Regions from separate parts of the Homo sapiens genome. Here all the other regions are linked to region 1. Evidence: promoter capture Hi-C in 16 types of primary human blood cells and fetal thymus (Javierre and others, 2016). All regions are on one chromosome and are shown on one strand. Each heading gives the region's core, a stretch centred on a gene start or on the middle of the fragment in contact. The rest is flanking DNA. Distances are from core to core; before and after follow the strand shown.

Evidence for each region. The method cuts DNA at HindIII sites, captures the fragments that hold promoters and counts their contacts. A CHiCAGO score of 5 or more calls a contact.
Region 2: a fragment that was not itself captured here is called in contact with the fragment with the promoter of ATP4A in region 1 in 11 of 17 cell types (M1 macrophages, total B cells, M0 macrophages and 8 more); the score reaches 7.8 in M1 macrophages.
Region 3: a fragment that was not itself captured here is called in contact with the fragment with the promoter of ATP4A in region 1 in 4 of 17 cell types (erythroblasts, M0 macrophages, M1 macrophages and 1 more); the score reaches 8.1 in erythroblasts.
Region 4: the fragment with the promoter of FXYD1 here is called in contact with the fragment with the promoter of ATP4A in region 1 in 12 of 17 cell types (neutrophils, non-activated CD4 T cells, total B cells and 9 more); the score reaches 16.7 in neutrophils.
Region 5: a fragment that was not itself captured here is called in contact with the fragment with the promoter of ATP4A in region 1 in 1 of 17 cell types (M0 macrophages); the score reaches 5.5 in M0 macrophages.
Region 6: a contact is called between a fragment that was not itself captured here and the fragment with the promoter of ATP4A in region 1, in 5 of 17 cell types (monocytes, neutrophils, activated CD4 T cells and 2 more). The highest score is 7.4, in monocytes.
Region 7: a contact is called between a fragment that was not itself captured here and the fragment with the promoter of ATP4A in region 1, in 1 of 17 cell types (erythroblasts). The highest score is 5.5, in erythroblasts.

The regions. Positions count from the first base shown.
Region 1 is chr19:35,561,138-35,565,340 of GRCh38, reverse strand. ATP4A (ATPase H+/K+ transporting subunit alpha) reads left to right here and starts at 1,683. Exons shown (of 22, transcript NM_000704.3): 1 at 1,683-1,723; 2 at 1,814-1,957; 3 at 2,073-2,132; 4 at 2,703-2,906. The coding sequence starts at 1,712. RefSeq lists an enhancer at 27-528. The HindIII fragment of the contact is 9,853 bases long and covers 1-4,203 here.
Region 2 is chr19:35,083,975-35,088,177 of GRCh38, reverse strand. HPN-AS1 (HPN antisense RNA 1) reads left to right here. Exons shown (of 4, transcript NR_024562.1): 3 at 1,078-1,222. It also overlaps the pseudogene LOC100420797. Among named protein-coding and RNA genes, the nearest start is that of HPN-AS1, 20 kb to the left of the region's middle. RefSeq lists enhancers at 1,690-1,799, 1,910-1,959, 3,246-4,060. The HindIII fragment of the contact is 229 bases long and covers 1,930-2,158 here.
Region 3 is chr19:35,986,766-35,990,968 of GRCh38, reverse strand. No RefSeq gene overlaps it. Among named protein-coding and RNA genes, the nearest start is that of SDHAF1, 6.3 kb to the left of the region's middle. RefSeq lists an enhancer at 3,967-4,026. The HindIII fragment of the contact is 4,649 bases long and covers 1-4,137 here.
Region 4 is chr19:35,136,744-35,140,946 of GRCh38, reverse strand. It overlaps FXYD1 (FXYD domain containing ion transport regulator 1), which reads right to left and starts at 2,123. Exons shown (of 8, transcript NM_021902.4): 1 at 2,053-2,123; 2 at 807-871; 3 at 318-350. The coding sequence starts at 867. The HindIII fragment of the contact is 25,239 bases long and covers 1-3,392 here.
Region 5 is chr19:35,963,463-35,967,665 of GRCh38, reverse strand. LOC105372383 (a long non-coding RNA gene) reads right to left here. Exons shown (of 5, transcript NR_136525.1): 5 at 3,596-4,119. Among named protein-coding and RNA genes, the nearest start is that of LRFN3, 29 kb to the right of the region's middle. RefSeq lists silencers at 3,812-4,012, 3,762-4,062. The HindIII fragment of the contact is 3,759 bases long and covers 515-4,203 here.
Region 6 is chr19:35,160,970-35,165,172 of GRCh38, reverse strand. It overlaps FXYD5 (FXYD domain containing ion transport regulator 5), which reads right to left. Exons shown (of 9, transcript NM_014164.6): 6 at 928-1,017. Among named protein-coding and RNA genes, the nearest start is that of FXYD5, 8.3 kb to the right of the region's middle. The HindIII fragment of the contact is 159 bases long and covers 2,221-2,379 here.
Region 7 is chr19:35,272,797-35,276,999 of GRCh38, reverse strand. The region is part of intron 7 of USF2 (upstream transcription factor 2, c-fos interacting); the gene reads right to left. Among named protein-coding and RNA genes, the nearest start is that of USF2, 5.9 kb to the right of the region's middle. The HindIII fragment of the contact is 2,308 bases long and covers 1,160-3,467 here.

The DNA of each region.
Region 1 (4,203 bases), core at 434-2,933:
GAGCTGATGGGAGCCCAGTGAGCGAGTAGATTCACTACAAGGACAGCATGTGGCCCCACGCCACCTCTTCTTTGGAGGTTTCTTCTAGCAGGCTGGGGATGACCAGCCGTGTGGGTGCGGGGAGGAGCTCTGGCTGCCCAACAGCTTTGAGTTTCCCAGGTGACCTGCCCCAGTAGAGAAGGACATTGCCAGGGCAGTTATCTTATCAGGCGCACGCTCACCTGCTCCTGGAGACACGCTCACCCCATAACATACCAAGGTCCCCACCATTCCACTGGCCCAGCCCCTCGCTGCTGCTGCCCATGGAGGTCCCTACCTGAGGGATGAGGAGGGAGTCCCCAGGCCTCCTGGCATCTGTCACCCAACACCAAGATCAAGCCAAGACCCTTGGACACATCCTTTCCCCATGTTGCACCTTGGTTTCCCCATCTAGGGTAGGGACGGGGAATGGTTGAGAGCTGTAAAGTCTGTAGCTGGATATGTGAGTCCCTGTGAGCCTCAGTTTCCCCCTCTGCACAACAGGAATGATAGTTCTGCCTGCACAGGGTTTTTTGCAAAGACCCGTGAGGTCACACGTGCAGAGCCTGGCATGTGTGTGGTGCTGCTGCAGTGAAGTTTGGGTTTTTCCATTGGTGGTGCCATAGAAGAGCTAGGCTCTGGGGTCAAGCCCTGGGGTCAAGCCCGGGCTGGAACCCTGTCCCTAATTCTTAGACGTTGAAATCTTCTGCAAAGTCCCTGATGGGGGCTAAGAAGAGAATATTGCTTTACAGGGCTGCTGTTAGATGCTAAGGAAACCATTTGAGTGACACACAGAGCACACCCAGCCCATAGTGAATAGTCAGAGTTCAGTAAACATTCAGCCACCATAGAGAGTGTTGTAAGCATGGCAGGGCATGGTGGCTCACGCCTGTAATCCCAGCACTTTGGGAGGCCAAGGCGGGTGGATCACCTGAGGTCAGGAGTTCGAGACCAGCCTGGCCAACCTGGTGAAACCCCGTCTCTACTAAAAGTACAAAAATTAGCTGGGTGTGGTGGCATGTGCCTGTAGTCCCAGCTACTCAAGAGGCTGAGGCAGGAGAATCACTTGAACCCGGGAGGCGGAGGTTGCAGCGAGCTGAGATTGCACCACTGCACTCCAACCTGGGTGTCAGAGTGACACTCCATCTCAAAAAAAAAAAGAAAAAAAAAAAGAGTGTGGGAGCACCCTCCTCTTCCAGTTGATCAGGCACGTGCTATTTAGACTGAAAGAGGACACTCTGCAGCCAGCTGATCTGGTTCTCACTCCATTATGTCCTAGCCTGTGATGGAGCCATAGGAGAATGACTCAACCCCTCCATGCCTCAGTTTCCCCATCTGTAAAGGGTCTTGTCCCCTCAAAGGGTTATTGGAAGGTTAAATAAGTTAGCACATGGAAGCCGTCAGCACAATGCCCAGCGCATAATGAGCACCTTATGTTTGCTCTTCTTGTTGCTGCAGCGGTTCCCAGGGGCTCCCTGATCTCAGGGCAGGTTGACATGGGGGGATCTGGGCAGGGGAGGGGGGGGCCAGCCCAGGAGGGAATGCCTGAGGTGCCCAGGCCTAGAGGTCACCCCAAGGAGCCTGTAATCAGCTGTGGTCGGGCGGTTCTGCTCCACCCCACCGCCCTCCCTGGGTATATCAGGACTGGTCCGGGCCCAGGCTCTGTTGGGTGGGAGCACAGGCACCGGGCACCATGGGGAAGGCCGTGAGTGGGGCCCAGGGGTCCGGGGTGCAGTGGGGACAGGGGTTGCAGTGGAATCTGAGTTCTCCCTCCCTCCATCCTGTCCATTCCCAGGAGAACTATGAGCTCTACTCGGTGGAGCTGGGTCCTGGCCCTGGCGGGGACATGGCTGCCAAGATGAGCAAGAAGAAGAAGGCGGGTGGCGGGGGTGGCAAGAGGAAGGAGAAGCTGGAGAACATGAAGAAGGAGATGGAGATTGTGAGCTCTGACTGGGGAGGGGCGGGAGCTGGAGGGTAGGCTGGGAACCAGGCAGTGGGCGGGGAGGGGGCCAGGAGAGCCCAGAGCAAGCACCCTGCCCCACCCCACCACACAGAACGACCACCAGCTGTCAGTGGCGGAGCTGGAACAGAAATACCAGACCAGTGCCACCAAGGTGAGCTGGAGACTGGGAGCGTACAGAAAGGGGAGGAGGAGAGAGGGAGGGAGAGGGAGATGGAAGGAGGGAGATGGAGAGAGGGAGAGAGAGGGAGAGATGAAGAGAGGAAGATATGGAGAAATAGAGAGAGGGAGGGAGGCAGAAAAGGAAAGAGGGAGGGAGGGAGAGAGGAAAGGATGGAGGGAGGGGAGGAGAGAGGGAGGGAGATGGAGAGAGGGAGAGAGAGGGAGAGGGAGAGAAGGGAGAAAGCATTAGAGAGAAAGGGTGACACACAGAGACGGAGAGAGGAGTAGCTGAAAAGAGACAGCAAGACAGAGAAGGCAGAGACAAATAAGGAGAGAGCAGCAGGAGAGAGACACATAGAAAGGGGAGCGAGGAGAGAGAGACAAAGGGAGAGATGAAGGAGGGAGGGAGAGATGGGGTGGGGGCAGGAACCAAGAGACAAAGAGATGAGAAGGAGCAGGACAGACCAAGCTGGAGAAGGGAAACTGAAGCAGGGGGCTTTCCACGGGGTGTGCATGTGGAGGAAAGCCCCCAGGACCGCCTCGCCCTGCCCCTCTGTCCCAGGGCCTCTCTGCGAGCCTGGCTGCTGAGCTGCTGCTGCGGGATGGGCCCAACGCACTGCGGCCACCACGGGGCACCCCAGAGTACGTCAAGTTCGCGAGGCAGCTGGCCGGGGGCCTGCAGTGCCTCATGTGGGTTGCCGCCGCCATCTGCCTCATCGCCTTTGCCATCCAGGCTAGTGAGGGGGACCTCACCACCGACGACAATGTGAGCCATGTTGTGGGGACAGGCTCAGGACATGGGGACCTGGGGATGGAAGACACTGAGCCTGGGACTTGGGACAAGAGGGGCAGAGAAGGATGGGGATAGACGAACACGAAAGGCAGTCTCAAGACAGGGGTCATGGAGGGTGAAGGACATTGGGATATGGATGGGGCAGACCCAAGGACACAGGACACAGGGACACTGGGGTGAATCTTGGGTATGGGGACATAGGTGGGGGCATAAAGAGTATGGCAATGTGATACGTAAGAGATGGGATTTGGAGGCCGGGCGTGTAATCCCATGCCTGTAATCCCAGCACTTTGGGAGGCCGAGGCGGGCAGATCACCTGAGGTCAGGAGTTCGAGACCAGCCTGGCCAACATGGCAAAACCCCATCTCTACTAAAATTACAAAAATTAGCCAGACATGGTGGCGGGCACCTGTAATCCCAGTTACTTGGGAGGCTGAGGCAGGAGAATCATTTGAACCCAGGAGGTGGATGTTGCAGTGAGCCAAGACCATGCCACTGCACTCCAGCCTGGGCGACAGAGCGAGACTGCATCTTAAAAAAAAAAAAAAAAAAAAAAAAAAGAGATGGGACTTGGAAGCAGAGGACATGCAGTGCAGACACAGGACAGACTGAGGCACGGGGAATAGGAGACCCTGGGACTCAGACATAGGACACCAGGGCAGGGACCCAAGCCTCAGGACACAGCACATAGAGAGACACAAAACATGAGACATAGAAGCACAGAGACAGAGAGGAAATGGAGGTGCAGGGCAAGGGACATTGGACATATGGCAGAGATGAGGGCAAGGGACATGGGGACTCAGGGACATGTGACATGGGACAGAGGCTCGAAAAGTCATGGCCATGGGACACAGGATGGGAACTCGGAGATACACAGACATGGGAGACACGGGACACAGTGACTGGGGAGCTAGAACATGGGGGCCGTGGCCACAGAGGACACAGACCATGACGTACAAGGTCTGCAGCACACGCAGGGACGGGGATGTGAGGATGCAGGGACAAGGGGGCCCAGGGGACACACAGAGGGTGGCAGCAGATTATGGAAAACCCAGGATGTGAAACTGGAGACACGGGGAATACAGGCCATGGGGACAGGAGGAGACATGGGACAGTGGACATGGGGAATGCAAGGCTTGGGGACACAGGAGAAGGGAACACGTCAGACCAAGGCACACAGTGATTTGGGGCACAAGTCACAGATATGGGGACATGGAAGATTGAGGATTCAGGGCCAGAGGATATGAAATATACACAGAAACACAAGACA
Region 2 (4,203 bases), core at 795-3,294, 480 kb after region 1:
AGGCTCGGGAGCATAGGACCACAGTTGGGTCAGTGTTGCTTGGCACATAGTAGGTGTTCAAATACGTGAAAAATGTTGATTTTTTTTGATATAGGGTCTCACTCTGACCCTCAGGCTGGATGCAGTGGCACAATCATGGCACACTGCAGCCATGAACTCCTGTGTTCATGCGATCTTCCCACCTCAGCCTCTTAAGTAGCTGGGACTATAAGCTGGGACTATAAGCGTGCGCCAACACACCCACCTAATTCTTTTTTAGATACGGGGTCTCGCTATATTGCCTGCTTGAGACAGGCTGGTCTTGAACTCCTGGGCTCAAGGGATCCACCTGCCTTGGCCTCCCAAAGTGTTAGGATTACAGATGTAAGCCACCGTACCAATACATGTAAAACATTTTTAGATGAAGGAACAAGGACATAACTATAATAGTGACCATCTCTTGTTTTATCCTGTTCTGCATTCATTTCTCCTTTCTCTGGATTTCCCTGAGAACTCACCCCTCCAAAATCAATCCATGTGGTTCACAGAAAGTCAATCCTATCCTAACTTCCAGCACATGACCCAGGCCCAGCCAATCAGCTAGTCCATCAGGGATTCAGGGGTGGTCACATGACTCAAGCTGGGCCAGTGAGGGACACTTTTCCTCCAGTGACATTTGCTAACCTGGCAGCTGTCCTTGTCCCTACAAGGTGGGATGGGATGGTGCCTGTCTGAAAATGAAGGAAAGGAGAGCCCAGAAATTGAGACAGATTTGAGACATATTGTTCAAGCACCTGGGTCCAGCTATGCCTGAATCCATACACCTGTAGATTTTTTTTTTCAATTGTGTAAATCAGTAATTCTTTTTTTTCTTAAGCTGGTCTGAGAGTGTTTCTGTTATATTAGCTGAATGCATCTGATGGATATAGTCAAAAATGGGCATATAATCAGAAAATAGAGGTAAAATGTAGAAATAATGGAGACAGAATAAGTTTTTCCCTTGGGCCTATGGGTTTGGGTGAAGGGTTGGGGTTCCTAGAAACGACACGTCCCAAAGCTGGTGCTTATCTGAGCCATGCCTGGGCTGTCCCTCCGCAGGTGGACCTGGGTCCCATTAACCTGGACAGACACCTCCAAGATGAGCATGAGGGGGCTGCTGGATCTGTTCTCCTTTCACAGCTGTATCCTGAAGAATGGCAGTGAGCCGGAAGAGCCACAGGATTCGGCAAAGACGGACACACAGGTACCTGAGAACTCAACAGTTTTCCCATCAAAGGTGATGATGTGTGAGTGCCCGGCTGCTTGGCAGGTGCCAGGGGAGAATGGGTGGCACCCAAAGATGCCCCTTAGGGTCCCACATCTCTGCCCTGGCCCACAGGAGGAGGGGGAGCAGCACACAGCATGGGTGGAAGCCTCGCAGTGGCAGAATTGCTCACAGTGCTCCCTAGCCCAGAATGGCTCCCCGGCCAGGTGGTATCTGCCCCCCATGGAGCAGCTGCACTGGATGGGGGTCAAGCAGTCCGTGCCACTGAGCACAAATCCTGGGTCACACTGGCAGCCATCCTGGCATGGTGTCAGACAGCTGTCGGGCAGGGCAGGCTCGGTGCAGGAGCTGGGACAGGAGAAGCCACACAGCTCGTAGTGGCTGTCGGGGGGCCAGGTCAGCTCTGGAGGAACACAAGTCATTCAATGCAAGGATGTCAACTCACTGCCCCACGTTCAAATTATGTTCCCTGCTATCTCCCCAGAGCCCAGCTCACGGCAAACCTCAATGGATATTTGTTGGAAGAATTAATGAATGTGTCGAAGCCTTTTCTATAGCACATATTTGTTCAACTTTGGCATCCACTACATGCCGGGAACATCCCAGGGCCTGGGGACACAGCAATGACCAAGACAGAGATCCCTGACCTCATAAAACAGATGTTCTAGGGCAGACGTTGACAAGCTTCACCCTTGGGCCCAAATCTGGCCCTCCACCTGTTTTGGCACAGCCTACAATCTAAATAGTCTTTACATGTTTAAGTGGTTAGAAAAAAAGAAACCAAAAGAGGAAATTTTGTGAGGTGTGAAAATCATGTAAAATTCAAATTCCGGTGTCTATAAATAATGTCTTCATGAAAGCCAGCTCGCCGGTTCGTGTATTGTCTATGACTGTTCTTATGTTACAACAGAAGCTTTGAGTAGTTGTGGCAGAGTGTGGCCCTGAAAGCCTAAAATATTTATTATCTGGCCTTTTATCATAAAAGTGTGCTGGCCTATTCTAGAGGGGGGAAATGGGCGACAAACTAGCAATAAATAAAAGATAATTTTGGATTGAGAAACTGGGTTAGATCTGTGTTACCCAGCTTTAGGTAGCGCAGAGTGGCTGAGCCCCATGGGCTGATTTGAGGACAGTGGCTAGGGAGGCCTCTCTGCAGAGGTGACATTGGAGCTGAGGCCTGAATGATGGAAGGAGCCAGCCGTGTGTACGTCTGGGAAAGAGCATTCCAGGCCGGGGGAACAGCAGATGCAAAGACCCAGGGGTGGGAAGGCATTTGGCGTGGTCCAGGGACAGCAGAGAGGCCAGTGTGGCTGGACCCTCGGTGTGGAGTGAGCTAGACAAAGCCAGTGTAGGAGGAGGCAGGGTGAGCAGAGAGAGGCCGCTGTGGGGGCCTCTTAGGAGGAGGCTTGGAGGTCAGTTTTCATCCCAGAGGTAAGGGGGACCCAGGGATGCTTTTAATCAGGAATCTGATGAGATCTGACCTATGCTTTTTCATTTTTTTTATGTTTTTGAGACAGAGTCTTGCTCTGTCACCCAGGCTGAAGTGCAGTGGCACCATCTTGGCTGACTGCAGCCTCCACCTCCACCTGGGTTCAAGCGATCCTCCCGCCTCAGCCAGTGCACACCACCACACCCAGCTAATTTTTTTTTTTTTTTTTTGTATTTTCAGTAGAGACAAGGTTTCACCATGTTGGTCAGGCTGGTCTTGAACTCCTGACCTCAAGTGATCCACCCACCTCGGCCTCCCAAAGTACTGGAATTACAGGTGTGAGCCACTGTGCCCAGCCCTAACCTATGCTTTTAAATGCCTTATGGTAGGTTCTGGTGACACACTGGTGACCAAGAGAGACCCCATCCCTAACCCTTGTCTTTGGGGGTTTCACAGATCAGGGGAAAAACATACTGGAGGAGAGATTGCTGGGGAGGGTTTTGTGTGTGTGTGTGTGTGTGTGTGTGTGTGTGCGCTGGCGGAGTGGGGGTGTCCCCCAGTCTCAGGATTAATAAAGAAAGTCAGAAAAGGAGAAATGTCCTGGGTGGGATGTGGGAGATATTCCAGCTCAAAGTTCATCTTAATTTGAGCACCCAGAGTCTGGGGGCTGGAGGAGACACCTGCACCCTTCCTGGATGGGTTTCCTGGATTCCTGCTGCCTGGAATGTCCCCCCGCCTCCCCGCTCCCCCAGCCAGCTCGGCTCCCTTTTCCACCACCTTCAGTCTCCACTCCCAGGGCACCTCTCTGCACCCCAGGGAACCCTAACCCCCCAGTTTAATACTGCATGCCCCTTCTCCAGCACTCCCCAGCCCTGCCCCGCCTGACTTACTGTTTAATCACCTACTTACTGGCTGGGTTGACTGATTGTCTTCTCCACTGGAATGTCGCCTCCATGAGGGCAAGGTTTTGTCTGTTTGGGTCACTGCTGTGTCTGCAGCGCCTAGAATGCTGCCTAGCACTTAGTGGGTGTTCAGTTAACCTTAGTCAAAGTGTGTGATGCCCCCGGGGCTTGTCTCTGGCTTTGGGAGGAGGGGTGGGCCAGGCAGGCCAGAGGCCAGAGCACCCACCACCAGTCCCTTGTGTTGGCCTTCGGAGCTTGCAATGGGCTGTTTCCTTTGGACAAAGAGAGGTTTTGTTTGCAAGATGCTGAACTTGCTTCCTGCTCTGAGAGGAGTGAGGGACTAGGGGCAGAGAAAAGGAGTTGCGCCTTGGGGTCCTGGAGGTTAGAGGCCCAGTCCTTCGGGATAAAGTCCTCACTTCTTGCCTGCCATTCAAGGCCCCACAGACACAGCCCAGGACCATGTCTCTCTCCAGGCTCCCCCATCTCTGGCTCAAATTTACACAGTCTCTGGGCTTCTGAAAACCTTGTTCCTTCTCCCTAGAACATTTGGCTTCTCCTTGCTTACCTATTGGCTTTGACTTGTCATTCAAGCCTCAGCTCTCGTGGCCCTTCCTCTGGGAAACTTGGCC
Region 3 (4,203 bases), core at 564-3,063, 430 kb before region 1:
CTTGGGGTGGGCAGGTCTGTGCTGCAGGCAGTTGGCAAAGATAAATGCCTAGGGCTCAAATTTCTTTTCTTCTTCTTCCTTCTTCTTCCTCCTTCTTCCTCCTTCTTCCTCCTTCTTCCTCCTTCTTCCTCCTTCTTCCTCCTTCCTCCTTCCTCCTCCTTCTCCTAGTCCTTCTCCTCCTCCGTCTTCTTCTTCTTCCTTCTTTTTCCTTCTTCCTTCTTCTTCCTTCTTTTCCCTTCTTCCTTCTTCTTCCTTCTTCCTTTCTTCTTCTTCTTTTTTTTTTTGAGATGGAGTCTCCCTCTGTCTCCCAGGCTCGAGTGCAGTGGTGTGATCTCCATTCACTGCAACCTCCACCTCCAGGTTCAAGCAATTCTCCACCCTCAGCCTCTCAAGTAGCTGGGACTACAGGTGTGTGCCACCACACCCGGCTAATTTTTGTATTTTTAGTAGAGACACTGTTTTACTATGTTGGCCAGGCTGGTTTTGAACTCCTGACCTCAGGTGATCCACCCACCTCAGCCTCCCAAAGTGCTGGGATTACAGGCAGGAACCATCGCGCCCAGCCTCAAATTCCTCTTTCCAATCTCATCGCCTCTGCCCCTAGTCAGCCTGGCTTCCCATTGGTATTTCCCCACCTCCACACCTTTGTAGCTGCAGTTCCCTTTCCCTTGGATCCTCTTCCCACACATTCTCCTCCACCAATTCCACCTATGCTAGGAATTCTTCCTGGACTCCCACCAGGGGAAGGGGCTCTTCCAGCCAACCCATAGTCTGCCCTGCCTGCACCCCAGACCAAGCCAGAGCACTTATGGCAATGCTTGGGGCCCCTCCAGGGCATCACAGGGTTCCCAGGCTCCTGGCTGCTGCAGTATGGCCTGTGAGAGTGTCACAGAGACCACGGTGCTGGCCACTGGGATGACACGCATCCTGCAGGCATATACTAAGGAAGGGCTTGTTGATGTGGGCCACACAGTGGTTAAAGGGGCCATCCGGCACATGCAGGAGGCCACACAGTTTGGGAGCTTTGAAGATCTGGGCAAGTCATGTGGGCAGCTGACATGAAAGCCATGGTTGGGCTGGGTCAGTGGGCAGTGGATAGTGATCAGGCCCTTGGACCAGGACACGGTATCCAGAGGCAGGTCAAGTAGGCCAACATTGCCTCCAAAGGACCCATGGAGCCCCGCCAGCTCGCCTTAGAATTCAGAAGGCACCATGAGCTTCCCCAGGTGTACATGAGATACAGCCCACAGGCCATGTGCACCATGGCATGGTGGCCCTCCAAGGCGGCCAACCCCAGCCCCCTGGCAGTGCCCAGGGCAGCCAGTAGTGCTCACCATCCACCTGCAGGGGAGGTAAGGGGTCAGGACTGGGGCTGAGGAGGCTGAACCTGCTCCCATGCCTCCCTGAAACCTGGATGTCCCTCCTCATTGCGCCACAAATGAGGGTGAGACTTGGACAAGGGACTTAGCCTTTCTGAACTTCAGTTTCTGTGTTTGTAACATGGAAGGACAAGAGTACCTACTTCAGGCTGGGTGCGGTGGCTCATGCCTGTAATCCCAGCACTTTGGGAGGTTGAGGTGGGCGGGTCACTTGAGGCCAGGAGTTCGAGACCATCTTGGCCAACATGAAGAAACCCCATCTCTACTAAAAACTCAAAAATTAGCCAGGTGTGGTGGTGCAGGCCTGTAGTCCCAGCTGCTCAGGAGGCTGAGGCAGAAGAATCGCTTGAACCTGGGAGGCAGAGGTTGCAGTGAGCCAAGATGGTGCCATTGCACTGCCTGGGCGACAGACTGAGACTCCATCTCAAAAAAAAAAAAAAGAGTACCTATGCTAGGCATATGGTAAGTGCTTCATGACCCCTGCTAAGATCGGCCAATGCCAACCAACCCACAGACACATGAGTTAGGAAGCTGCCTGGGGTTAAGTCACTAAGATTTTGAGGTTGTTTGTTATGCAGCATTAGCTGACTGATACAGTTGCAATAAGGATTAGATGAGATGGTTCATGAAAATTCCTCAGAACAGTGCTGAGCACATGAAAAGCACTAAATAAAACACTAAATTGGCCGGGCATGTTGGCTCACATCTGTAATCCCAGCACTTTGGGAGGCTAAGGCAGGAGGATCCCTTGAGCCCAGAAGTTTGAGACCAGCCTGAGCAACATACTGAGACCCCATCTCTACAAAAATTAGGATGGCATGGTGGGGCATGCCTGTAGTCACAGCTACTCCAGAAGCTGAAGCGGGGGGATCACTTGAGCCCAGGAATTTGGGGCTGCAGTGAGCTGTGATCACATGACTATGCTCCAGCCTGGGTGACAGAGTAACATTCTGTCTCCAAAAACAAAACAAAACAAAAACCAACCAAACAAAAAACATCATAGCCAGTCACTAGCACATTGGTAATATGTGTTCAACATTCTAGGTGAGGAAAGGAATGACTTACCAAAGTATCAATTCCACCTTCTCTCTATTGCTTAAATGATCACTTATCTCTGCTTTGTAACCATCAAGAGTCTAGATTACCATCATTCATTTCCCGACCCTGCTAATAACCTGTTACCTTTTTTTTTTTTTTTTTTTTGAGACAGAGTCTCACTCTGTCACCTAGGCTGGAGTGCAGTGGCGCAATCTTGGCTCACTGCAACCTCCGCCTCCTAGGTTCAAGCAGTTCTCTGCCTCAGCCTCCCAAGTAGCTGGGGTTACAGGCACGCACCACCATGGCCAGCTAATTTTTGTATTTTTAGTAGAGACGGGGTTTCACCATCTTGGCCAGTCTGGTCTTGAATGCCTGACCTCGTGATCCACCTGCCTTGGCCTCCCAAAGTGCTGGGATTACAGGCGTGGGCCACCGCACCAGGCCATAACCCTTTATCTTGTCTCTACTCAGTCATGCCTGTCCTTCCTATACTCCATCCCCACCATCTAGCTGACTCTGCTAAACACCCTTATCTTTTTTTTTGTCTTTTTTCTTTTTTCTTATTTTTTTTAGACAGACTCTTGCTCTGTTGCCCAGGCTGGAGTGCAGTGGCACGATCTCGGCTCACTGCAACCTCCACCTCCTGGGCTCAAGCAATTCTCCTGCCTCAGCCTCCTGAATAGCTGGTACTACAGGCATGCACCACCACTTCCGGCTAATTTTTGTGTTTTTAATAGAGACAGGGTTTCACCATGTTGGCCCAGGCTGTCCTCGAACTCCTGACCTCAAGTGATTTGCCCGCCTCGGCCTCCCAAAGGGTTGGGATCACTGGAGTGAGCCACCGTGCCTGGCCTAAACACCCTTATCTTTTAAAGACATACACTTTTTAATTTTATTTAATTCTTTTAGAGACGAGGTCTGGCTCTGTTGCCTAGGCTGGAGTGCAGTGGCGCCACCATGGCTCACTGCAGCCTCGACCTCCTGGGCTTAAGGATCTTCCTACCTCAGTCTCTTGAGCAGCTGGGAACACAGGCGCGCACCACCCCCCCCCCCCCCCGCCTAATTTTTAATTTATTTTTTTGAGCCCGGGAATGGTGCGGGCCAGCAAGGGAGAGCACAGGGGCGGAGCGCGGGGGCGGGGGCCGCAGGGGCAGGGTACCAGACGGTGCCCAGCGGTGGGTGTCCGCCTGCAAGGAAGCAGCCGCATTCGGCTGCGGGCACTCAGAGGCGCCGCTCAGCGGGAAGCCCTGGCCGCATACTCAGCGCTCCCGGCAGGGCTGTCACCCGCGCATGTGGCCAGGTAGCGCGCAGCTCAGCGCGAACGCAGCGGGCACCGCAAAGCTGGGGCGGGCCGCGGGGGTGGGAGGGTCAGGGACAGAGACAGAGAGAGGTGGGGGAGACATAGCCAGGGTCGGATGGGGGAGGCGGAGATGGAGGATGCCCGCAGAGAGCAGCACGGGTGTGCCCGGGGAAGAAACAACGAGGAACCGAGAGAAGGGGAACGGGAACAGGGGAAGGGGCGGGGCAGAGGGAGGTCCAGAAAGAGAGACATGCAGAGAGCCAGCGGCACGGAGGAGACATAGAGACACCGAAAAAAGAGGCATAAAAGACAGAAAGACCTTGTTAATCAGGCCGGGCGCTGTGGCTCACGCCTGTAATCCCAGCACTTTAAGAGGCTGAGGAGGGAGAGCCGCTTGCGCCCAAGGATTCGAGGCAAGCTTGGGCAACATAGTGAGACCCCTGTCTCTATAAAAATTGTTAAAAATTTTAAAAAGACCTTGTTAAT
Region 4 (4,203 bases), core at 874-3,373, 420 kb after region 1:
AGGAAAGGGAGGGAGGGGACAGGGAGGAGGAGGACAGGGGGGAGAGAAGACGGGAAGAAGCAGAGGATGGGCCACGAGATGCTGAGACAGACGCAGGCAAGAGAAAGAGAACCAGAGAGGTATCACATAGACAGTGACACAGATAGACACAGACAGGAAAAGATGCAGACAGGTGGAATCAGAGAGGAAGGACAAAATAGAGGGAAGGAGAATGACAGAGATATCAATACTGGGACTCTGGGGGAGGGCGAGGGGGAATCAAAGGACCAGCAAAGCCAGGCTCTCCCCCAGGACTCAAAATTAGACCCCCCGCTCACCGTAAGTGAACGGGTCGTGTTCCTTTGGACTTTCTGGAAAGAGAGAGAAATCAGGGGTTGAATGCTTCCTGGGGTCCTGGCAGGGAGGGGCATGAGGAGACCACTGGAGGCTCTGCCTTGCTGGGCTTAGAGTCTGAGGGTGTCTGGGCAGGCTGCCCACACTCTCTGGGTCCCAGCTGCCCCCTCTGCACTGTCCCAGATGGGGCAGGTGGCACCTAACTGCCCCAGCTCCCTGACTCACGGCAGGCTGTCTGTGACCCAGTTATCCCATCGGGGATTCAGCCCCATCCCACCCCATCTTTGCCTGATCTGGGGCTTCCTCTCCCCTCCCCCAAATACCAGCCTGTGACTGGACCCCACGTGGAGACCCCCAAACTTCTTGGTACCCCAGCCGACTTAGTCTAGGTTGGGGTCTCCAACTTGGTTCTTCGGTCCCCACCGCCACCCCTGGGGCTGAGGTGGGTAGCGGGCAGCCTCCCCTGCACTCACCTGCCTTGGCCATGGTGAGGAGACCCACACAGAAAACCAAGATGTGGCCAAGAGACGCCATTGTCCTGGGGGGGACACCACGGATTAGGCAGTGTGTGCCCTTGCTCTCCCACATAGGGCTTGAACCCAAGGGATTAAGTCAGAGACAGTCTGGGGACTGAATCACAGAAGTGTTTGTCCTCTATCTTGGTGGCTCCAAGCTAGAGAAACGGGTATCCCCAGCTTCGTGGGGACACAGTGTCACCAAAACAACCTCCACGATGGGATCACACAACAACACAACGTAGCAGGGACGGGGGTGAGACACACAGTCCCCGGGGGGCCTCCCTTGGGCCTCCACCTCCCGCAGCAGGCCCCCGATTCCCAGACCTACCCTGGCAGGGCAGAGGAGGCGCTGCCTCACACAAACACAGAGCAGGAGACAGCAGGGCACGCCCAAGTCCCACCTGCCTACATGCCCGGCCTCACTGTGCCCCGCGAAATCCCAGCTCCCTGCCCTCTCCGCCCGCCCGCTCGCGGCCTGACCCCGGGTATAAATATCTCCCACTTCACCCTGGAGGAATTCTGCTCGCTCAGGCCACCATGGCAACAGCCTGCCTTCCCCCACTCAGGGGGTCACGCACAGCCCTGCCGGGGTGAGGCCCAGCTGCCACATCGCCACAGGCTGCCCCTGTGGGAAAGGTCACCCCGTCTCCTCCCTGGGCAGCAACGAGAAAAGGAAAAGACAGCCCCTCTGCCCGCCTCTGGGTGACATCTTTCACAATCGGATGTCAGGCAAGTGACATGAGGCCCAGCCCAGTGGGCCTTAGAGATAGAAAACACATGCTGGGGCAGGGATACACACACACACACACACACACACACACACACACACACACAGTGGGGCCGGAATGGACATGAACAACAACCTCTCCCCAAACTGCTGGTTGGAGCAGGACGTGGGGTGTAAACACCGTCAGGCATCCAATACTCCTCCTCTGGGCCTCCGGTGCCCCCACGCAGTGACGCAACCAGCCCTACACACGTGTGTGTCCCAACTCCACACCCTGCCAGGGTGCACACGCACCAGCAGGGCAGGGAGGAGTCACCCACATCCCACCCTGCAGAACCCACTGCCTCAACCACACTCCCTCCCTCTTGGGTTGGCCTGCCTGGGAAGCCTCGGGCTGGCCACTCCTGCTCCCAAAATAGGCGGCCCAGCCAGACCAGGGGTGAGGCCTGGAGGGAAGGAGTGGGGGACGCTCACCCCAATCGGGCTGTCCCCTGCTGAAAGAAGGCCCCCAAACGTCCTGCTGTGCCCCGGGGGCTGAGCACTTTGGACCCCCTGGCCCAGAGCTGGACGCGCCGCCCCCAGCAGCCTCCCCTCCCAGCCCCACCCCACCCATGCCCTCCCCAACCAGCAGCTGAAACTGGAGCTGGGGCTGGAGGGGGGCCAGGGGGCGGCCCCCAGCCCAGACTGCCCTGGCCCGCTTGGTTAACTCTCTCAGTTCAGAGAGAGCAGCAGCAGGCAGCCAGCAGGCAGGCTGGAGAGGCTAGGAGGATTGTGGAGGACAGGGTTGTGAACACACACACACACAAACACACACGCCTCCAAGAGCTTTTGGGCTGAGGCGGCTGCCCCCTGGGAACTGGGTCCAGCCAGGGCCGAAGGTCACCCAGCCTGACTGCCCAGGAGCCCACTGACCCCCGATCCCAGTGCTCCGTGAGGTCCTTAACAGGGCTGTTTTAGAGGACGGGAGGGAGGTGTGTGTGTGTGTGTGTGTGTGCGCGCGCATGTGCGCTATCTGCTGTGGTGAGATCCCCAGAAATGCACCACACACACACACCCACACACAATCCCAAAGACCCAGATATACAGGTACAAAACCAGACAAAACCATGTATGTATGTACATCCATAGAAGCAGACACACACAGAATGACACACTGATAGAGAAACCCAAAGACCCGGACACACAGCCAACACCTTTTATGCCAGTCACAAAATACCAGAACAAGCACATTTATGTCTACACAGACCCACGCACGCTCATGTAGATGGATGGCCACACAGAGATACAGTCAAAGACATAGCCACATCACCATCTACACTCACAAACTGGCCACAAAAATGCATGTTTATGTGAAGACCCACCCACAAATGGCCATACAGAAACACACAAGTATGTGCACACCGCACATAAATGCATTCTAAGATGCATGGCCAAACATGGCCAGGTACGGTGGCTCACACCTGTACTCCCAGCACTTTGGGAGGCCAAGGCGGGAGGATCACTTGAGGCCAGGAGTTCAACACCAGCCTGGCCAACCCGACGAGAGCTCGTCTCTACTAAAAAAATATACAAAAATTAGCTGGGTGTGGTGGCGTGCGCCTGTAATCACGGCTACTCCGGAGGCTGAGGCAGGAGAGTCACTTGAGCCCGGGAGGCAGAGCTTGCAGTGAGCTGAGATCATGCCACTGCACTCTAGCCTGGGCAACAGAGCGAGACTCTGTCTCAAAAACAAAAACAAAACAAAAAAACCCCAAAGGTACAGACATGCAGCCAGCACTCCTACATGGTCCCAAAGATAGGAAGGCCAACAAGCTTGTGTACACACAGACAGATTTCCATGGGCACAGATACACAAGCAGAAACACCATCAAGGACAACCCGCCGCTCTCACACATACCCACAAAAGCAGAAACACACACACTGGTTCACACCCTATGCTTGAGCAAACAGGCACATGGTTGGCCACGGTGACAGATGCGCAGGCTGACACACTTGCATGTTCACACATTCCAAAACCACAGATATGTATTTAACCCCACACTTTCCTTCCCCTGAGCTCTTGTCGGGGACAACACACCTGGCGTCCCCATGGGCAGGCCAGGTTTACAGGTCCTGGTGACAGGGAAACCTGGAATGGCCCAGGCACTGCACTCCTGGTTGTGTGAACTTGAGCAGCTCTGTGCCTCATTTTCACATGCTCCAAAATGGAAAAATCACTAAGATCACGTGTATAATCCTGGACAGGGCTCAGAGGTCTCTGAACTTGACATTGTCTTATGATTAACTTCATTTTTTGTTTGTTTGTTTGAGACCGGGTCTTGCTCTGTCACCCAGGCTGAAGTGCAATGGCACAATCATAGCTCACTGTAGCCTCAACCTCATGGGCTCAAGTGATTCTCCCACCTCAGCTTCCTGAGTAGCTGGGACTATGGGCGTGCGACACCATGCCTGGCTAATTTTTTAATTTTTTGTACAGTCGGGGTTTCTCTATGTTGCCCAGGCTTGTCTTGAACTCCTGGCCCCAAGCGATCCTCCCACTTCAGCCTGCCAAAATGTGGGATTACAGAAATGAGCCACCGTGCCTGGCCTATTATTATTGTCCTTGTCATCCTCCTCCTTGTGAAC
Region 5 (4,203 bases), core at 1,145-3,644, 400 kb before region 1:
GGATTACAGACATGAGCCACTGCGCCAGGCCCGACCCTGTCTTTAAAAAAAAAAAGAAATCAGGCCGGGTGCGGTGGCTCATGCCTGTAATCCCAGCATTTTGGAAGGCTGAGGTGGGCGGATCACCTGAGGTTGGGAGTTCAAGACCAGCCTGTCCAACATGGAGAAACCCCATCTCTACTAAAAATACAAAATTAGCCTGGTGTAATGGCACATGCCTGTAATCCCAGCTACTCAGGAGGCTGAGGCAGGAGAATCGCTTGAAGGTAGAACCTTCAAGCTTGAACCTCTACCCGGGAGGTAGAGGTTGCAATGAGCCGAGATCGTGCCATTGCACTCCAGCCTGGGCAACAAGAGCAAAACTCCTTCTCAAAAAAAAAAAAAAAAGAAAGAAAGAAAGAAAAAAAGTCTAGATGTATGGTAGCCCAGAGGCTCAGGTGGTAGCCCCTGTGATGGCCCCTTGTCCTTTGCTACAGTCAAGTCCTAATTTTGCCACAGCCAGAGTCTTTAAGCTTGGTTTAGTCACTGTCACCACCTTGAGCCCCAGCTTGGCCATGAGACAGTTCTGACCCAGACACAGATACTGTCTTGGTTTTGGACATGGTTGTAGACAATGGTTAGCTATGGGTTTGGTAGGTGGTATAGGTGCTGGTTCAGCTACAGCCAGAGTTGCAGGAAGTGGTTCTTTCACAGTCACAAGTCGAGGCACTGGTGCGGCTGCAGCTACAGGTTCAGGGCAGGGTTCATTTACGGTCACTTGTGCAAGCCCCAGATGAGCCATGGCCACAGGTTCAGGCTCAGGTCCCCCCAGGAGCACAGGCACAAGCCTTGGCTCAGCTTCAGGTGTGTTGTTTGGTCCTGATGCAGCCACTGCCATGGTCTTAGAGCTGAAGATGGACGGTGTTTTGGAGTCCTGCCATCTTGGAACTGGACAAGGTCTCAGACTCACATGTGACCTGAGTGGTGGGCACACATTTAGGCCTTTTTCATTTATTTATTTATTTAGATTTTAAATTACTTTTTTGTTTTTTGTTTTTTTCTTTTTTCTTTTTCTTTTTTATTTTGAGGCAGGGTCTGGCTCTGTTGCCCAGGCTGAGGTGCAGTGGTGCGATCTCAGCTCACTGCAACCTCCACCTCCTGGACTCAAGCCATCTTCCCACCTCAGCCTCCTAAGTAGCTGGGACTACAGGTGCATGCCACCTGGCTAATTTTTGTATTTCTTGTAGAGTCAGGGTTTTGCCATTTTGCCCATGGTGGTCTCCAACTCCTGAGCTTAAGTGATCCACCCATCTCTGCCTTCCAAAGTGCTGGGATTACAAGTGTGAGCCACTGTGCCCAGCCACACACTTAAGTCTGTGCTTCACAAGCTGACATGTGGTCCCATCAGAGCATGTATGGCCCTCACAGGAGACCTGGAACTGGAGTGGCATCACCAGGGAAGACTAGGAGGGGATGGGACTCTATGAAAGGGCTCACTTCCTCCTCAGTCAAAATATTTAGAGATGAGATGAGGGAAGGATGCAATATAATTGGATCCTGGAATTTAGCCTCATCCCCGACCTGCCTTCATACCCCGGGCCTCCAGGGTCCCTGGCACTGGAAACTCAACATTCAGAAGCTATCAGTGTTCCCAATTTAAAATAAACTGGGTCTGTATGTATCAGCAGAAAGAAAAGAGTGGGACTGAGGGACAAAATGATCAGCACGGCCTGGGTGTAGAATAGGTCTGTAGGGAGCTCGAGAGCACAGGCTGCATCTGAAGACAGCCAGATTCAATTATGTGAGCATCTCTATGCCAGTGCAAATGTATGGTGCATTGATTCTGGCCATCGAGGACTTCAACTTGCCACATTAAGCAGACTTGAGGGTAGGATGTGAGAGTGTGTGTGTGTGTGTGTGCGCGTGTGTGCGTGCGCATGTGTGTATGCTGTGGGGAACTGGAGACATATATTCCTTCCTTCTTCCCAGGAAGGGATGTTATTTATTCATTGCTATCAGTGCACGAAGCTAGCCACCTACAAAGTGAACTTTTTTTTTTTTTTTGAGACAGAGTCTCACTCTGTCACCCAGGCTGGAGTGCAGTGGTGTGATCTCAGCTCACTGCAGACTCCACCTCCCGGGTTCAAGAGATTCTCATGCCTCAGCCTCCTAAGTAGCTGGGATTACAGACATGCACCACCACATCTGGCTGATTTTTGTATTTTTAGTAGAAATGAGGTTTTGCCATGTTGCTCAGGTTGGTCTCGAACTCTGACCTCCGGTGATCTGCCCACCTCGGCCTCCGAAAGTGCTGGGATTACAGGCATGAGCCGCCACACCTGACCCCAAAGTGAACTTTTAAGAATAATCTTGTGTTCTGTAGAACTTTGCATATTTTCTATCACAATGGAATATAGAAAAAAAAAGATGGAATATAGAGTTTTCGTATGGACTGAGCTAGAGTGTCAGCTCCCTGAGGGCAGGGATGTTGTCTGTGTTGTTCACTGTTGCATCTGCAGTGCCTAGAACAGGCCTAGCCTGAAGAAAATGAAAAAAAAATTGCTGCAAAGTAATACTGGCAAATATTTACTGCATGCCAGACAGTGTTCTATGAAGTCATTTAAAAAACGCTGGCAGGGTGCAGTGGCTCACGCCTGTACTCCCAGCACTTTCTGAGGTCAAGACAGGAGGATCACTCAAGCCCAGGAGTTCAAGACCAGCCTGGGCAAGATGGTGAGGCCCCATCTCTACTTTTTTTTTTTAATTAAAAAAAAAAGGCTGGGTGTGGTGGCTCATGCCTATAATCCCAGCACTCTAGAAGGCCGAGATGGGCAGATCACCTGAGGTCAGGAGTTCAAGACCATCCTGGCTAACATGTGGAAACCCCATTTCTACTAAAAATACAAAAATTAGGTGGGTGTGCTGGCCTGTGCCTGTAGTCCCAGCTACTTGGGAGGTTGAGGCAGGAGAATCACTTGAACCTGGGAGGTGGAGGTGTAGTGAGCCAAGATCTTGCCATTGCACTCCAGCCTGGGCAACAAGAATGAAACTCCATCTCAAAATAAATAAATAAATAAATAAATAAATAAATAAATAAATGAATAAAAATAAGGCCAGGCGCGGTTGCTCATGCCTGTGATCCCAGCACTTTGGGAGGCTGAGGCAGGTGGGTTACTTGAGGTCAGGCGTTCAAGACCAGCCTGGCCAATATGATGAAACCCCATCCCTACTGAGAATACAAAAATTAGCCAGGAGTGATGGCAGGCACCTGTAGTTCCAGCTACTAGAGAAGCTGAAGTGGAAAGATTGCTTGAACCTGGGAGGCGGAGGTTGCAGTGAGCCGAGGTTGCGCCACTGCACTACAGCCTGGGCGACAGAGTGAGACTCCATATCAAAAATAATAATAATAATAAATAAATAAACATAAAAAATTAGAGCCAGGTGCAGTGGCTCATGCCTGTAATCCAAGTGTGTTGGTAGGTCAAGGTGGGTGGATTGCTTAAGCCCAGGAGTTTGAGACCAGCCTGGCAACATAGCAAGACCCCATCTCTATTTCTATTAAATAATAATAGGAATAATAAATAATTTAATTTAAAATGCCACAACAACCTTATGATGTTCATACTATTATCCACCTTTAATAGAGGGGAAGTAGATAGTCAGAGAAATGAATTGACTTATGCAGAATCACACAGCTTGGAGCAGGATTTGCATCCAGGACTCTTGGCTCCAGAGTCCAGCTCTGAGCTGTTATAAATAAATGAATTGAAGTCCTTGTCTTCATTTCTAAGAAACCCAGCCTCTCTCTCTCAGCATTCCCTCACTTTTCTCTCATCTCCCTGGTCTTCCGTTGTTTCTCAGGACCGTAAGAGGTTGAATGGGATTTCAGGGTTACAGGAAAAGCCCAGGTCCCGCAGCACAGTGTGTTCAGAACCATGGTCAGCGTCCAGTCTCGCTGAGTCTTCGCCGAGCGCGGTGCCCTCTGAGACAACATGCCTGTTTCCCAGCAGCCCAAGCAGGCTTGGGGTTCAAAGCTGACATCTGTTCAGCATGTGGCCTTGGGCAGTGATTTCATGGCTTAAACCTTCAACTGTCTTCTCTATGAAATGAGGATAACAAAAAGACCCATCTCCAGGATGACTGTAAAGAGAACATTATATAATGTATGTACATTATTTATAAAAGCACTTGCCACTTAGCACATAAGTCTAGACTACTTTATAA
Region 6 (4,203 bases), core at 1,051-3,550, 400 kb after region 1:
TGAATTCTTTTTTTGTGCAAGATCCAACAGCCCTTTCTTGGGGTCTGGATCGGAACCCCTTTCCAGTAACAGTCTGACATGACACCGAAAGGAAATGCCCACTGGAACATTTTGGACTTCAGATTTTTGGGTCAGGAAAGTTGAACTGGTAAGTATAATGCAAATATTCTAAAATCTGAAATCTGAAAGTCTCCTGGTCCAAAGCATTTTGGATAAGGAATACTCAACCTGTACTCCCCAGTCACTCTCTAACCCTACTTTACTTTTCTTGATAGCAAGTTGAAATCAACTGATACATAATTATGATTATTTCTTGTTGTGTTTCTCTTACCACTAGAATAGTAGTTCCATGAGGGCAGAGATTTTTTCTGGCTTGTTCACCACTCTATCTCTGTCCCCTAGAACTAGCCTAGCACACAAGTACTCAGTGACTATTTGTTGAATGAATGGATGAATGGGCTCTCTATGTGACCCATGGGCGTATCATTTCCATTCATTCACTGGGGGGCTGACTGGGCAGGAAGTGGTGGATAAGATCACCAGGGAAAGAATCAAATTGCCCCTAGAAACAGAGGTCCTTGCTGACCCACAACTGACCTCAGACGCATGAGTAAGTCCAGCTGAAACCAGAAGAACCAGCCAGCTGAGCACACCCTAGATTTCCAAATTGCAGAAATGAGAGCTAAATAAATGGTTATCCTTTTAAGCCACTGAGTTTTTAGGTGGTTTGTATGCAGCAATAATTTATGCATTCACTTATCTATTCAGACATTTATCATGTGCCCACCCTCTGCCTGGCTTGAAGTCATTTACTTTCCCATCACGTCTTTACTGAGAACTATTCTGTGCTGGGCTGTACTCCAGGTGCTGGAAATACACAGTGAACAGAAAATAGCCTGTTTCCAGTCTGGGGAGGCAGTTACTAACCAGATGGCTTGAGGGTCTGGGGGTCTGTCTGGACGTCTGTGCTTGGGGATGGTCTCTCAGAGAGCGTCGTGGTGTCATCAGTGGGATGAGCTGAGAGAGTGGCCAGATCAGTGGAGGGCAGGAGTGAGCCATGGAGGCAGAAACAAGGGATATTACTGAGAGTCTGCATCTGGAAGAAACCCCTCTCCCACATCTACACAGCTGGTGTGCAGGGTCAGGCATCCCCCCTACTCCACACCTAGAGGCAATAAGTAATGACAGGCATTGAAATGCTGAAATAAGCACATAGCCCCGGTTGCGACTATCTGATCTGCCTCAATCCCCGAGGGACTCCAGACCCCTCTCCTAGGACCTTCTGGCCCACACTATAATCCAGGAGATAAAGGAACGAAAGGGCAACACCTGCCAAGGACTCTGACCCAGCTACATAGTCTGGAGAAACTTGTAAAACATTCTGAATATTGGCTGGGTGCAGTGGCTCATGTCTGTAAACCCCAGCACTTTGGGAGACTGAGGCGGGCAGATCACCTGAAGCCAAGAGCTCAAGACCAGTCTGGCCAACATGGTGAAACCCCGCCTCTACTAAAAATACAAAAATTAACTGGGCCTGGTGGCACACACCTGTAATCCCAGATACTTGGGAGGCTGAGGCAGGAGAATTGCCTGAACTCGGGAGGTGGAGATTGCAGTGAGCCAAGATTTCGCCACTGCACTCCAGTCTGGGCAACAGAGCAACACTCTGTCTCAAAAACAACAACAACAACAAAACTATTCTGAATATCACCTCTGCCCCCAGACCGAAAATACCAAAGGATTCTTCTCTTGAAAAAAAAAAAAAAATCAGTACCTCCAAAGAAAAGGCCTCCCCCAAGCACTGAGAAGTGCCCCCACACCACATCGGAGGCCTCAACAAGAAGCCAGCAGACAGAGAAGCTCCCTCGTGAAACCCAAGTTCCCTGGAATTATCTCAGTGCCCCACACCCTAAATAGGAACTGGCAACCAAGGATTACAAGATATTCAGGGAATGCATTGCCCAGAGGAAGGTATAAGCCAGATCCACGGCAGAGACCACAGGAATGCGAAGGACAGCCATACTGGTGTGTGGTGCTCATGCACCCTGGGGTGAGACAGTCTGGACTCAAATTCCGGTTCTGCCACTCTTGGCTGTATTGCCTAGGGCAAGCTGAGTAACCTCTCTGGGCCTCAGTTCCTTTTCCTGTAAAATGGGAGTAATGACAGTTCCCACCACACAGGATGATCACAAGCATCAAATGACTGAATACACAGAAGCTTAGCACAGTGCCCAGCATGAACAAGCTCTCAGCAAAAGTCAGCCATTGCTATTACTGTCTGCTCAGCACTCTTCCTCCTTCTGGAACAGCTCTCCCTTTCTTTGTGGGAAGACATTGCCCTCCCTTCCCCAGTTATAACCCAGGCTACAAAAGGAAGCTTGTGACCTCAGTCTGGTCCTTCCCTGAGACCTTTGAAATCCCAAGTAGGGATATTGAGTGACAGCTAGGTACTATAGACTGAATTCTATCCACCCCACCAAATTCCATGTGATGGTATTTTGGAGCGAGGGCCTTTGGGAGGTAATTAGGGTTAGATAGGATCATGAGGGTGGGGCCCTCATGATGGGATTAGTGCCCTTATAAGAAGACACCAGAGAGCTTGCTTTCAAGCTCACAAGCCCACCCACACATGGAGAGGACATGGTGAAGACAGAGCAAGAGAATGGCTGTCTGTGACCCAAGGGGAGCCCTCGACAGACACCAACCCTTCTGGCACCTTGATCTTGGACTTCCCATCTCCAGAACCGGGAGAAATGAATTCCTATTGTTTAAGCCATCCAGTCTGTGGTATTTTGTTATCGTAACCTGAGCAGATTAAAACCCTAGGTGAAGTCTGGAAGTTTTGAGCTAGGAGGCTCAAATAACATGAGCCATTTCCTTCCTAGGTGGAAGAGAAGCAAAGATAGAGGAGGAAGAGAGGCCCTGGGGGCTTTCATGCCCAGCCTCTAGGCAACCCAGAGGCTCAGCAGTGACAGCCATTTGTCCTTGATGAATTTCTGTCACATATATCCAGGAACATGGACCAATACATAGAGCAACTCAGGTCAGCAAAGACTCAGTAAATTAATGCAGTGATGTGAGAATGCTTTATCATTGATAAGTGTGGACACAGCTGCTATCCCCCACCCCTACAGGTGCACTTTTGTACAAACTAGAAAAGTTCCCTTCTGTAAAGCACTTTATTTCCATCCATTGTAGGATTGTTTTAATAGATAGATTCTGTAAGAATGAGATGCTTTGCTGCTATCACTAGAAAACTGGAACAATTATAAAGACCGACAAAGGGAATGGCATTGCCCGAGAGGTGGTGCTCTCGTTCAGTACCCAGTCTGCACAACTGTACATGTCTCTCTGGGAGTGGCCTACTCTACAACACTTTCCAGTGTGGGGCTGCCCCTCAAATAAGGATCATCACGCAGGCATTAGAGGCGATCTGTTGCCTTATCTCAGCTCAGTCTCCTTTCCCACACCTTCTGGTAATACTAACTCACTTGTCCAAAGGAAAATCCCCTCTTCCCTGACTCTTGGTCTATGTGGTTCAGGCATGGCTGGCTGAGCCTCTTCTCTAGCCCCAGGGTGGGGCACAAGACTCAGGCCTGACCAATGAGAGCAGCTCATTTCTCAGGCTCTCATTGGTTCAGACATGAGCATGTGACTCCAGCTGAACCAATGAGAGTCAATTCTAGGCCTCAGGCTAGAAATAATGGGAAAGATTTTGTTCTCTAGCCACCACGTATGTGACCTAAAGTTAGAACTATGGGACCATCTCTGCCATCAAGAGGGGAGAAGTTAGTAGAGAATGAAGACAACAGAACCAAGAGAGGGAACAAAGCACTCATGACAGTGCTTACTCGCCTTGATCCAGCTATGCCTGAAGTTGGCTACTTCTGGACTTTCCAGAACTTATATAGCCAATCATTCTTTTGTGTGTGTGTGTGTGTGTGTGTGTGTTTAAGGTGAATTTTCTATATTTTGCAACTGAAAAGCTCCTGCTCTAACATTAAGGAGATGTACAAAAAAGAAATATCCACAGGCACATTCTATAGCCCCAGCCCTCCGAGGGGAACTGACAGAAAGAAAGTTCCAAAGTCTATCAGTTAGGGAAACACTGCATACTGCACGCTGCCCCTTGGGGATCCTTTGCTGAAAATTAGCTTAATGAAGACTCTCAGAAGTCCTGCCACAAAGAAACATGGTTAACTT
Region 7 (4,203 bases), core at 1,064-3,563, 290 kb after region 1:
GCTGGGCGCCGGCTGCAGGTACATCCTCTCCAGAGCAAGCTTACTTCTTACACACCTACTCCCCGCCCTACTATGTGCCAGGCCCTCCGCCAGGCTGGGGTCCAGGGTGGAAGCAGCCCCGGTGCGCCCCATGGGCACTCGCAGCACCACTGTGGGCAAGTGGCACTAACCCCATTGCATTCGTGTCATCACTGAAGATGGTACAAAGTGCCTCGGGAACGCCAGGCGCCGAGCCATGGCCTCTGCATGGGAATGGGGGTGGGATGAATCCTCAGAGATCCAGGAAACATTCGGGCTGGTTTCTGAGAGAAAGACTCTAAGGCAGGCAGCTGGGAAGATCCCAGAAATGGTGGCCTGAAAACCATTTCAGGGTATGCAGGGGTGGGAAAAGGTTGTAAAGATCGGTTGTCAAGGCCTTGTGTGCTCTGCTCGCAGGTCAGGACCGCATCTCCTCCTCCTCCAGAGTCCCAGGCCCTTGAATCCAGGCCCTGACATTAGCAGGCGGTAATGCTGTCCAGCCTGTGGCTTCGGAAGACCATCATGGCACATTTGAAATACAGGAAGACCCATTAGGACCAAGGCCACGTTCATTCCACAGAAGCACTTCAGTTACTCCATAGGAAACTTAAAATTCAGAAGCTGGGTGGGGTGGCTCACGCCTGTAATCCCAGCACTTTGGGAGGGTGGATCACATGAGGCCAGGAGTTTGAGACCAGCCTGGCCAACATGGCGAAACCCCGGCTCTACTAAAAATGCAAAAATTAGCCAGGCATAGCAGTGCATGCCTATAATCCCAGCGACTTGGGAGGCTGAAGCACGAGAATTGCTTGAACCCAAGAGGTGGAGGTTGTAGTGAGCCGAGACCACATCATTGCACACCAGCTTGGGTGACAGAGCGAGACTCTGTCTCAAAAAAAAAAAAAAAAAAAAGAGAAAATTCAGAAGCGAAACCTGCCAGGACTGAAGGAAGAAATGGACAAATCCACAAATATAGTGAGAGACATGGACATCTTTCTCATTGATTGGTGGAACAAGTAAACAACAACAACAAAAATCAGAATAGAAAGCCTGAACACTCAACCAGCCTGACCTCACTGACCTGGGGGGACATTCTGCCTGACAGCAGCAGACACCTGTCCTCGTCAATGCCCCAGAAGCTTCCGCCAAGCTAGGACACATTCGGGCCCGTCGGGTAAGTCTCATCGAATTTCAAGGAACTGAAATCATACAGAGTATGTTCTCTGACCATAACAGAACTAAATTAAAAATCAATAACAAAAAGATATCTGAAAAACCCACAAATATTTGGAAATTAAGCAACCTGCCTCCAAATAACAGAAAGGTCAAAGAAGAAATCACAAGGAAAATTGGAAAACACTTTAAACTGAATGATAACAAAAACAACATATCCCAGTGGGATGTAGCTAAAGTGATGCTGGAGTGAACTGGCAACTCTAAATGTTGTTAAGCAAAGAGAAAGGTTAAGAATCATCTCAATCCCTGCTGTGAAACATTAATCCTGTAAAATAAAGATTTTAGTAGAAAATTGGAAAAAAAAAAAAAAAAAGAATTACCTTAAAAAGCTGGGGTTGGGGTGTGCCAGGGAAGCTAAAGCATGAAACCTAGCAAATTGAATCCAAAGTGAGTAGAAGGGGCCGGGTGCAGTGGCTCACTCCTGTAATCCCAGCACTTTGGGAGGCTGAGGCAGGTGGATAACCTGAGGCCAGGAGTTCGAGACCAGCCTGGCCAACATGGTGAAACCCCGTCTCTACCAAAAATACAAAAACTAGCTAGGTGTGGCAGCGGGCACCTGTAGTCCCAGCTACTTGGGAGACTGAGGCAGGAGAATCACTTGAACCGGGGAGGCAGAGGTTGTAGTAAGCTGAGATTGCGCCACTGTGACAGAGCGAGATTCCATCTCAAAACAAAACAACAAACAAACAAAAAACCAAGTGAGTAGAAGCATGAATTAGTAACATTAAGAGTAGAAATCAATGAAACGGAAAAAGCAATCTAATCTGGCACCTAAAAATCAGATTTCACATAAGTCTCGATTTCTAGCTTCTCAGAGTTTCTGGCAACAGTGGCCCTAGATTCTGACAGGGCAGCAAGGGGAAGGCACTGGGCAAGGGCCACCCTTCAGGCAGCGCACACATGCCCCAGATCACTGGGGGCCCCCCACAACCTTTCCTATCTTTTTCTGACACAAGGTCTGGGTCTGTTGCTCAGGCTGGAGGGTAATCTCAGCTCACTGCAACCTCTGTCTCCCGGACTCAAGCCATCTTCCCACCACAGGTTCCCAAGTAGCTGGGACTGTTACAGGCATGTACCACCAGGCCTGGCTAATTTTTAATTTTTTTGGTAGAGACAGGGTTTTGTCACATTGCCTAGGATGGTCTCAAACTCCTGGGCTCAAGTGATCCGTCCGTCTTGGCCAAAATGTAATCCCAAAAGTGCTGGGATTCCGGGCGGGAGCCACCACACCCAGCCACACACCCCTTCCTGAGATGCCAAGTGCACCTCCCTCCCTCAGGCCCCTGCAGGCATTTGAGTCTGTGACTCTGGGATAAGCTCCTGCAGTACCAAGAAGTGGTGGGAAGGAGGGAAAAAGAAGTGAGAGAAGCGGATCTGAAATCACCACAGAAGAGAAACTTGGGGTTTGTGGCCATAAGGGAAGAAGAGGGCAGAGTTGAAAGCGGCTCTGGTCTTAGTTTCTGGCTTGGGCAGCTGTGACAGGGGTAGCTTTTGCTGCTCTGCAAAGAAGAAGGTTGCATGAAAGCCTTTGGAGACGGGAGATGGCACATTCTCTTTTGGGCGAGTTGAGTTTGAGGCATTACAGGGATGTCCAGAGACAGAAATCTCGAATAGGTAGTTCAAAACGTGGGGCTGGAGTTGCAGTGAAAGGAAGGGAATGGATGGAAACACAGTTCCTTGCATTACCAGGAGCCAGGTGGTGGGCGAAGCCTGGGAGGACATCAAGGAACAGTCCTCAACTTTTTGTGAGTCACACACTCTTCTGCAGCAAAGAAAAAAGAGGAACACCTACAAGGGGGAACAGAGTTTGGGGGATACTGACCAAGAGCTTCCGAGCCCATCGCTGGGCCTCACAAGTCATACACCTGAGGCCGACGGGAGGGGCCGGACCTTATGAAACACCAGCAAGACTGGGTGTGGCAGCTCAGGCCTGTAGCCGAGGCCGGAGGACTGCCTGAGGCCAGAAGTTCAAGACGAGCCTGGGCAGCATAGCAAGACCTCCACTCTACAGATAAAAAAAAATTACCCCATGTGATGACGCCTGCCTGTGGTCCCAGCCACTCAGAAGCCTGAGGTGTGAGGATCGCTTGAGCCTGGGAGGTCAAGGCTGCAGTGAGCTGTGATTGTGCCACTGTACTCCAGCCTGGGTGACAGAGTGAGACCCCCTTCTCAAAAAAAAAGAAACACTCGCAGCCAAAGCAGTTTCTCAAGCTTGTCCACTATGACAAATCACCTGAAGAGCTGATGGAAAACACAGATTCCCCGGCACCCCCATCTACTCACTTGGAACTGGGACAGCCCTGGAAATTTCACTGTTAACAGTGGGGTAGGAAAGGCAAAGATCACAGGAGAATCAGAGAGGATGGAGGAGAAAGGAAGATTCCAGAAAGGAACAGAGGGAAACAGGCAGCATCAGATGCTTGGAGCCCAGACAGCAAAGGAGGCCAGTGGATGTGGCAATGGGGTCACCACGGGTGACCGGAAGTGGAGCTGTTTTGGTAGAGCCATGAGCCAGATGGCTGAGGGTACTGGGAGGATGAGCAGATTGGGGCAGATGCTCTGCAAGTCAGGAAAGCGGAGACAGGACGGAGCTGGAGAAGTGGGCAGGTGATGAAGACTGCTTCACAGGGTGAGAAAGTTTCAAGGCTGCCTGGAGTCAGATTAACTAAGGGAGAGGCGGGGGTGAGAGTGGGGTGGGAGGGTTCTGAGTCCTCTCTTCGCCTTACTGTGTGGCCACCAAGACTCACTGCATCCCCACCAGGTGCCCGGGGCGGCTGTGCTTCCACCATTTCACAGAGGGAAGACAGGTACGGAGATTAAGAACCACCCTGACGCCCCACCACAGGTAAGTCGTGGGGCTGGGGCTGCTCTGGGGGCCCCTCAAACTCACTGCATCTCAAAACCAAGCTCAGATGCACCCCTTCCCTTCCAAGCATGGAGGGGAGTTCA